Linked DNA regions of Homo sapiens: all the other regions are linked to region 3. Evidence: promoter capture Hi-C in 16 types of primary human blood cells and fetal thymus (Javierre and others, 2016). All regions are on one chromosome and are shown on one strand. Each heading gives the region's core, a stretch centred on a gene start or on the middle of the fragment in contact. The rest is flanking DNA. Distances are from core to core; before and after follow the strand shown.

Region 1 (3,029 bases), core at 501-3,000, 330 kb before region 3:
CTTCAAGGGATTAACTAGGCTACTGTATTGCTTTCAGTTCCCAGGAGCATGTGGCCCTCTTTCGGTTAGTATATAAGTCATTTGTTCAGTAGGGAATAGGTGCCTATCATCTTTTTTTTTTTTTTTTTTTTTTAGGATGAAGTCTCACTCTGTCACCCAGGCTGGAGTGCAGTGGCATGATCTTGGCTCACTGCAATCTCCACCTCCCAGGCTCAAGCGAGTCTCCTGCCTCAGCCTCCCAAGTAGCTGGGATTACAGGCACCTGTCACCATGCCTGGCTAATTTTTTTTTTTTGTATTTTTAATAGAGATGGGGTTTCACCATGTTGGCCAGGCTGGTTTTGAACTCCTGACCTCAAGTGATCTGCCTGCTTTGGCTTCCCAAAGTGCTAGGATTACAGGCATGAGCCACCACGCCCGGCCAGGTGCCTATCAACTTTTTAATTCTTGTAAGTTATTAAGCAAAAGGTATATGTATGTGTTTGAAAGCATGTGTGGGAGTGAAAGCATGTGTGACATGCATGCGGTACGTGAGAGTGAACACTTGTGAGCGCAAGAGTGTGCGCTGTGTGAACAGAGTGTATGTGTGGACCAGTGAATGTACCTGGCCCTGGATACAAGTCATCATCTTCTTCTTGCTCCAATTAACGTGTTCTCTGCTTCTTCCATTTCTTTGACTGACTTGGGCCTACTAAGCCAGACGTCTCCAAATATTTTTGACTGCATATACCAGCAACAACATTTTGAAATGTTTTCATATAAATTATAAACACATACTCTGGCCATCCATACATCAAATATTAAAGCTAAATCATGTTCTTGCTTCATAGGTAAGAAAATGAATACAGATGGAAGGTCTGTTTCCCAAATCCCAGTAGCTCATCTTGCCTACTCTGGGCACTGTGTCCAAATTCCACTTTGCAGGCCACTCCTTGAAGCCACAGCTACCCCTAATCTGGCCTCTCACCAGACTCCTAGACACACATCTTGCTGAGGACTGGTGCCAGATTACCTGAAGCAAATGTCAGGTGATGAACTGGAAAAGAGGTCTGAGGGAAGCTTCCAATTTGCATTGCTGATGCCAATTTCAGGAACCAGTAAGTGAGCGCAAAAAAGAAGAAGGCAGGAAGACGCAGAGACAAGTTCTAAAACATCAGGTCAACTAAGCAAGGAGACTCTCTGAGGCTGTACTGGAAGCAGGGGAGAATGTTCATATTTCTGAATGCACTTGCTGGCAATTCACTGCCAGCCCAGTATGGTGAGGGGCTGGGTTACACCCACATCTCAGAAATGACGGCAGACTCCCAAAACAATTTACAGCAAGCATGCCTTAAAAGTGCATTAGCGGGCCAGGCATGGTGGCTCACGCCTGTAATCCCAGCACTTTGGGAGGCCAAGGCAGGCAGATCATGAGGTCAAGAGATCAAGACCATCCTGGTCAACATGATAAAACCTCGTCTCTACTAAAAATACGAAAATTAGCTGGGCCTGGTGGCACGCACCTGTAGTCCCAGCTACTTAGGAGGCTGAGGCAGGAGAATCACTTGAACCCAGGAGGCGGAGGTTGCAGTGAGCTGAGATTGCGCCACTGCACTCCAGCCTAGCGATAGAGTGAGACGCCTTCTCAAAAAAAAAAAAGTGCATTAACTAACTGCCATTGGAATCACTTGCTGCATTACATTTTCTCTTAGTGACTTGGGGTTGAAATGTCTCTTTGAAAGTCTTAGTAACCTCGACAAAGGAAGGTGCCCAGATGCTACTCTACAGGAGAATACGGTATGAAATGATGAAAGAGCAACATGCGGAAGGAAGGGCAGCTCCAAGGCCCAACTGCCTGACAGTAAGACATCAGGGAATGAAGTGGTGAACACAGGGGAAGGTGGCAGTGCTGGCTTTAGACAAGCCCATCTCTTGTCACTATTGGGGTGCTACCAAAATAAATGCCTAAGGTCTTCAATAACAGCACTTGGCACTTGTATCAAATTTCTTTCCCGAAACACACCCATATCCCTTGTCTTATTGAAGCCTCCAAGTGACTCTGTGAGTGAGGGCATAATGTATAATGTTTGGTTTTGGTTTTATATTTTCCGGGAGAAGAAACAACGGGGAGATTTATAGCCCGGCACCTCCTCCACCCTGGCAGGGTGCTGTGGGCTGGATTTCACTGGGACAGCAGGGTTGGATGAGGTCAGAGCCAGCGTGGAATTAGCCTACTGCGCTGGATTCCTGAGTGTTGACTCAGCCGCAAGACTCCAGAGGGCAGAGCGCTGAATGTGCTAGAAAGAGTTACGAATGAGGTGCCCACCATGTGTAACTGGGTGAGAACACCCAGCCTCTGCCCTCAGGGGTTTGCAATCTAATACATCAGGAATAGGGCCAATGTTTGAGAGAACTGTAGATGAGTGAGAAAGAAAACTGGCACGACTTTGTAAATATAAGCTTTCTCAATTTAAGCAAACTTGCACATTTGTTTACTTTGTTCTAAGAGTTGCTGAATAAGGCATGATACCATGAGTTTATGGTCAAACAGCCAGGGAAAGGCAGCATCTAGGCAAAAGAGAAGGGACCCATAAGTTAGGAAAGAATGCAAATTGGAGGCCAGGAAAAGTTTGCTAACTGAATAAATAGCTGCTGCAAGGCTTGATGGGGGTTTGAGGGGTGGGCGCTGAAATGTTGAAAGGGACACAACAGGTCAATCACAGACACAAGGTGGAAAATGCAGGGATATCTATAGAGTGGGTAGGGAGGATGTAGGTTCCAAGTCACTAAGGATAGTCCTAGATTTTGCCTGTTTTCTTAGAGTAATTATGTATAGTGTCACTTATCATTCTCAACTGTGTCCTTTCTTGGAGGATAAATGATATAGTCACCCTAGTTCTCCAAAACTCACAAGATGCATTGAATTGCCAGATAGCCCCCCTCCAGCCAAGCCATCTACACCAGCTTCTATATTTGCACCACCTCTCCAAGGGGCTAAATACCACCTCCAAGAGACTAAATACCACCCCCATCAGCCCTGCCCTGAGGCTA
Region 2 (2,982 bases), core at 200-2,699, 280 kb before region 3:
GACATCATCTACCCTGCATGCCATTAGAGTGACTTCTACCAAATGAATAAAACATGATCATTTTGCATAAACTCAGAAAAGCATTTTTTTCCTCTAACCAAATTGAAGAAGAATTAATTGAGCACTTCCTGGTGTCCTAACAGTTAATTCCTTTTTAAATCACCACATGGCTGCCATGCCTTGGGTGGCTGTACCATGTATCCCCACCATCCAGGGACCAGCCAGATGACATCAGGGTGCGGAGAGGCAGTTAGGCCTCCCCTCATTGTATAGCAGAGTCTTGTTTTAATGAAAAAGTCCCACTTTCTTCCCCGACTGAAACTCCCTTAAGTCCATATAAGTCACTGTGGATGGAGAGGTACTGTTACCGTAGCTGTGTGTGTACTGAAGGGGCACCTCTACAACCGACAGTGGCCAGAAGTGAGAAAATAAAATGGAGAGTAGTCTAGAAACATGTGCCTCATCCAACCCACTCCGCCTGAAAAAAACTTCCTTCCTTTCTCAAGAGACACCTGGGCGCCTTTTCATTCTCCCTACCACGTGGCCAAATGCTCACAACTAATGCTTAAGTTCTGAAGTTTACCCAGGTAGAGACGGAATCATTGATGACATTTATGTGTTCACTCAAAACAAACGAACGGGGGCACAGGGGCTGATGCCTGTAATCCCAGCACTTTGGGAGGCTGAGACAGACAGATCGCCTGAGGTCAGGAGTTTGAGACCAGCCTGGCCAACATGGCAAAACCCTGTCTCTACTAAAAATACAAAAATTAGCCAGGCGCAGTGGTGGGCACCTGTAATCCCAACTACTCGGGAGGCTGGGGCAGGAGAATTGCTTGAACCCAGGAGGCGGAGGTTGCAGTGAGCCAAGATCGCGTCATTGCACTCCAGCCTGGGCGACATGGTGAGACTCCATCGCAAACAAACAAATGAAAAACACAAAAGGCAAAACACATAACTTTCTTCTACTTTAGAGGAAGTGGAAGGGAACTACTGTGTGTGTGTGCCAGGCATCATGGAGAATGTTTCACATGCACCGTCAACACATCCTCACGTCCACTCCAGAAAATGTATCACCAACCCTCATCCTAGAGTGAAGACAACCACATTTCAGGTAAGCTAAGTAACTTGCCCAAGGTCACCTTCCTTCACACCCTGCAAAGATGTGTCATCTTAAGAGATTCTTCAGTGTTAACTAAATGACGCTACTCCCCAGAGCATTCCATCTAGTTTGCCCTCTATCTTAAGTTTATCCTCTTGATTTTTATTGGCTTCCTTATTGGACTCAACTTCCTTTCCCTTAAGATGTCGCTACCTGGCATTAACCAGGTGTTCATTGCTCAAAGTAATCAGTTTCCTCAATCCTCCTTTATTAAACAACCTGTTTCCTTAATCACTCCCTATCCCCAACCCGCCCCCAGTGATTCTGCTACTGAGTGCTTGCTGGCTAAAATCAGCTCTAAGAGATCTTCGAAAACTGATACCACAACAACTCTCATTACCACTAGTCAACAGACATGCACTATTGAACACCTAATGTGTGCCAACCCTGTGCGACAATGTGTATGGGCTGCAGGGTATGGAAGGGATCAGGACAGTGTTTGGGTGCCTCCTATGCCCAGGGGCATTACACATTACCTCTTTAATCTGGGGTACATTTATATCCATTTTACAAATGGGCAAACTGAGACCTAAGTTAGAAGTCCCTTGCCCGGAAACAGAGAGGCTAGGATTGTGGCCATAGAGCCCCAGCCTCTCCAGGAGGCCTCCTATATGCTGCCTGGCACAGTGCAAAGAGCCCTCCAGCATACAAAGAACAGACCAGCCCCGGTCCTCAGGAGCTCACCGCATAGTTGGGAAGCCTGGCTGTTCATTAAGAAAACTCTGCAGTTCAAGTGAGTATTTGCAGGGGGATCAATGAGTGGGCAAATAAGAGTGGCCCATGAGGTGGGAAGAGCGGGGCACTGGGGGAGGCCCCAAGCAGAAAGACATGAGCCAGGCTGGGCTTGGTGGCTCATGCCTGTAATCCCAGCACTTTGGGAGGCTGAGGCGGGCGGATTGCCTGAGGTCAGGAGACCAGCCTGGCCAACATGGTGAAACTCTGTCTCTGCTAAAAATACAAAAATTAGCTGGGTGTGGTGGCGGGTGCCTGTAATCCCAGCTACTCAGGAGGCTGAGGCAGGAGAATTGCCTGAACCCAGGAGGCAGAGGTTGCAGTGAGCCGAGATTGCGCCACTGCACTCCAGCTTGGGCGAGAGGGCAAGAGGTCAAGAGGGTGAGACCTCATCTCAAAAAAAAAAAAAAAAGAAAAGAAAAGAAAAGACATGAGCCAGGCTGTGCTGTGGGAGATGATCCTGAGGAACAGCCTCTCCCTGTGAGTCCATCACATTGACCCTGCCGGACTGCAGTCATTTTCACAGGTCATGCCCTTCTATCACCAAATCTCCCCAAGTTCTCTGAAGGAACAGGCCACTTCTTTCCACCAAACTACTCAACTGAGCGCTGCATGTGCTCTGACCCTTCCTAACTTTCCCTTCTCATTCTTCTGCATGTGAACTTTGCTGTGAATATGGCCTGCAGGGTTCTGTGAGGGTCGCAAACAGTCAGCCCATCTTGGAGAGCCCCTTTCAACACTTCTCTGTGCAGCGGAATGAGGCAATGGGAAAGTGGGCAGGAGGCCCAGGCTGACTTTCACGGTGAATTCCCTGAGCCCCGTGGAGATGCTGCCCTTGAGAAGTCATCAATCAACAGCAACCCCGGGGGGTACATTACTGACTGCTGCACATTTCTGGTCGCTCTTTCTGCAAACAGAAGGGTACATATCAAAGTTCTATACTGGTGCAGGCTGTAAGGACAATCTATTTGCTATCAGTGTGTGTCGGGTAAATCCATATCCCATTAGGCCAATTTTGCTCAAGCATATGCCACTTTCACTTTTATTTATACAGACACATTCTTGAGTCTCTGGCAAACGATGCTACA
Region 3 (3,033 bases), core at 167-2,666:
AAAATCCCTTGTGGGGAGAGGAAAGTCAAGCTTCAATGCTTTGCTGGCCCACTCTTACTCTCCTCCTCACTGTAGTGTGGCTACTACCTGCATACCCAACCCTTGAAGCTAGACTGTTTTGCTTGGGTGTCTGTTTCCTCTGGCTGTATCTGGTTCCTACTCTTGGTCGTAAATTCCTCCAGGGCAGGACTTATGTCAAAAGACTTTGCAGTATATTAGTTCACCTTTACCCTTACTACCTCTGCAATGATTGGAATGTCCCCTTCAAAAATTCAAGTTGAAACTTGTCATTGTAATAGTATGAAGAGGTGGGACCTTTAGGAAATGATTAGGTCATGAATGAGTTAATTCCATTATCACAGGAGGGTTAGTTATTTCGGGAGTCAATTGGGTTCACATGCCTCCCCCACCCCTACCCCAGTATGATGCCCTCCATCATATTTTGACACAACAATAATGCCCTCTGTCTTGGACTTCCCAGCCTTCAGAACTACAAGCCAAACAAATCTCTTTCTTTATAAATCTACCAGTCTATGGTATTTGGTTACAGCAGCAGAAAATTGACCAAGACAACCCCTTACCATAAACCTGAGTAGCAAATGCAACATCAAAAGTAGGTGAATAGTAAGTAGTACATTATTGTTGTTGATTTCTATGATCTGGTTTCTCTTCCCACAATCCTGAACGGTAAGGTGTTCTCTAGTATTTCTTCAGGACCATAAATTGTGAAGGAGACTGTGATTGTAGTAGACAATTCTAGGCCTTCTGGAACCATCACTAAAGGCAACATACGACTGTGCTAATTAAAAGGAAAAAAAAATCCCTAAACAATCTCGGAAACTGATCTTTCCTGGCCAACAATCTCAGATATAGAAGATTAGATTTACTAAATTTAGAAAGAATCCTTTTTTTTTTCCCCCAATCACAAAAATTATCCAGTAAAATCTATGCTCACTTCCGGTAGATCTGCAACAAGGCACGGTCACAGGTCATTTCAATAACTTGCTAGGCTCTTCAGTACTCAGAGTCCCTGGAAATAAGTCATTAGCAGTGGAAAGCTGCTTTTTAGAATTTTCTAAAACAAATCCATGGGGTTTTGATCTGCTAAATTCGAATGTAGACAACAGCAGCCTTATTTCCCTACTTTTATAATCTAATTTATTTGGCTGTATCTGTGGGCTTAAGAGTTTAGTGTTCTTGGTAAATAACACGTAAAAAAAAAGTCATTTTTCATTTCTACGAACCAGCCCCACCCCGGCGCTCCCTCGGGATCCTCGCTCTAGCCCCGCCTCCGTCCAGCCTGGCTCCGCCCCGTTCGGTAGCGCCGCGCCTTGGAGGTCTGTGGCTAACTTGGTCCGGAAGAAGCGAGGCGGACCTTCTGGCGTTTGAAAAACTTCCGGCGGGAACCGGAAGGTGCGGTGGCACTCACGGAATCTCGGGTCTTCTGACGTGCCGGGCGGGAAGGTGAGCTGTGCGTGCGCCTTGGCGGTCGTCTTGCGGGTTCTCAAGAGCCCGGCGTCCGGGCTCCGGGATCTTTGGGGCCATTAAAAAAGTTCTGAGCGCTCATTTGGGCAATAACACCCCTTTTTTAAAAGTGAGAAGTTCATTACATTTTACTGTCAGCGGTCTCTCACAACCGACCACCCGAAAACCCCTCCTAGCTACCTCGTGACACCTCTTTTCAGCCAAATTGCTGCAGCTCTTAGCGCATAACAGACATAGAAAAGCCTGGGCAAGCCTGTTTTTTTTTTTTTTGAGACGGAGTCTCCCTCTGTCGCCCAGGCTGGAGTGTAGTGGAGCGATCTCGGCTCACTGCAAGCTCCGCCTCCCGGATTCACGCCATTCGCCTGCCTCAGCCTCCCGAGTAGCTGGGGCTACAGGCGCCCGTCATCACACCCGGCTAATTTACCTGGATTGTTTTTATACCTAAAATTATCGGAGGTGGGAGAGGAAGCACCCTTTTCACGGTCATGGTGGCCCTGTCTGAATCAACTGCACCTTCTGTAGTGCGCCTGGCATGTAGGAGGCGCTCAGTAACCGGAGGAAAGGAATGAATTGGGAACTCTCTAGGCAACTTTCCTCGAACCCCTCACGTGACATGTCATTAACATATTGTGTGTGGAATGGGAAACGAGACTAGTCTTGGTGTTCCAGGCACTGGGCTATAGTCCTTTGCCACATATCTTTCCCCTTTGAGTAAACTGTTTCACCTCATTGGGTCTCAGATTTCTGAATATAGCGGGACTGTCTGATCTCAGGTTCTTTCAGCTCTAGTATTTTGTTTTTGTGACTTGGGAATCTGCTAACATTCAAGCACTCTGTTGGTCCTTCATGGAAACTTGTTTAGGTGCTTCTTAAGAAATTGTCCTCCTTTGTTTGCCTTCTTGAATTTAAATTTTTTTTTCCAATTTTAATTTAGTATTTGTTAGTGTGCACGTCCTTTTGCCCCTTTGTCCTGATTTGCAGTCGTCCTAGTTTAGTGGCTCTTCCCTTAGTAACATCATAGCAACCTCCAAATTATTGGTTTGGAATATGCTCATGTGCCTACAGTGATTAAGATAGTTTGAAAGGAGGGAAAAATCCCAAGTCACTGAAGAATAGGAATATTCTTATGTGCCATCACTTCTTCAGAAAGAGATGAATGCAATGTGTGGCATTGCCTAAGAGTGGTGGAAAATAAATGTATATTCCTCTGTAGAGACCATATTTGTACATATTATGTTCATTTAATAGTTGTAGGGCATCTGTTAAGTGCTAGGTTCTATGATATGGAAGTGAATAAGGCACATGCATTTCCTTCTTTCATGGTATTTACTCTCTTGACAGCAGTGCAAGCAATAAACAAGTAAAATAAAAATAATTACAGATTGTGTTATAACCTACTGTATACAGGAAGTAAATAGGCTCCTTTTAAAATATAATTGAGAAACCTATTTTAGGCCTGAAATGTTAAGATCTAAGGGATGCAAGGAGCCAGCCAATTGACAAGCAGGGGGAAGAATACTCCAGGCAGAGAGTACCTGAGGTGGGAAA

What was found. Contacts are between HindIII fragments. The CHiCAGO score rates a contact against its expected background, and 5 or more counts as called.
Region 1: a contact is called between a fragment that was not itself captured here and the fragment with the promoter of SRBD1 in region 3, in 6 of 17 cell types (endothelial precursors, M1 macrophages, M2 macrophages and 3 more). The highest score is 9.0, in endothelial precursors.
Region 2: a contact is called between a fragment that was not itself captured here and the fragment with the promoter of SRBD1 in region 3, in 1 of 17 cell types (monocytes). The highest score is 5.1, in monocytes.

The regions. Positions count from the first base shown.
Region 1 is chr2:45,938,170-45,941,198 of GRCh38, reverse strand. The region is part of intron 2 of PRKCE (protein kinase C epsilon); the gene reads right to left. Among named protein-coding and RNA genes, the nearest start is that of PRKCE-AS1, 260 kb to the right of the region's middle. The HindIII fragment of the contact is 1,380 bases long and covers 1,061-2,440 here.
Region 2 is chr2:45,892,678-45,895,659 of GRCh38, reverse strand. The region is part of intron 2 of PRKCE (protein kinase C epsilon); the gene reads right to left. Among named protein-coding and RNA genes, the nearest start is that of PRKCE-AS1, 220 kb to the right of the region's middle. RefSeq lists silencers at 1,448-1,507, 1,477-1,649. The HindIII fragment of the contact is 8,081 bases long and covers 1-2,982 here.
Region 3 is chr2:45,609,650-45,612,682 of GRCh38, reverse strand. It overlaps SRBD1 (S1 RNA binding domain 1), which reads left to right and starts at 1,416. Exons shown (of 21, transcript NM_018079.5): 1 at 1,416-1,464. RefSeq lists an enhancer at 1,596-1,765. The HindIII fragment of the contact is 4,677 bases long and covers 33-3,033 here.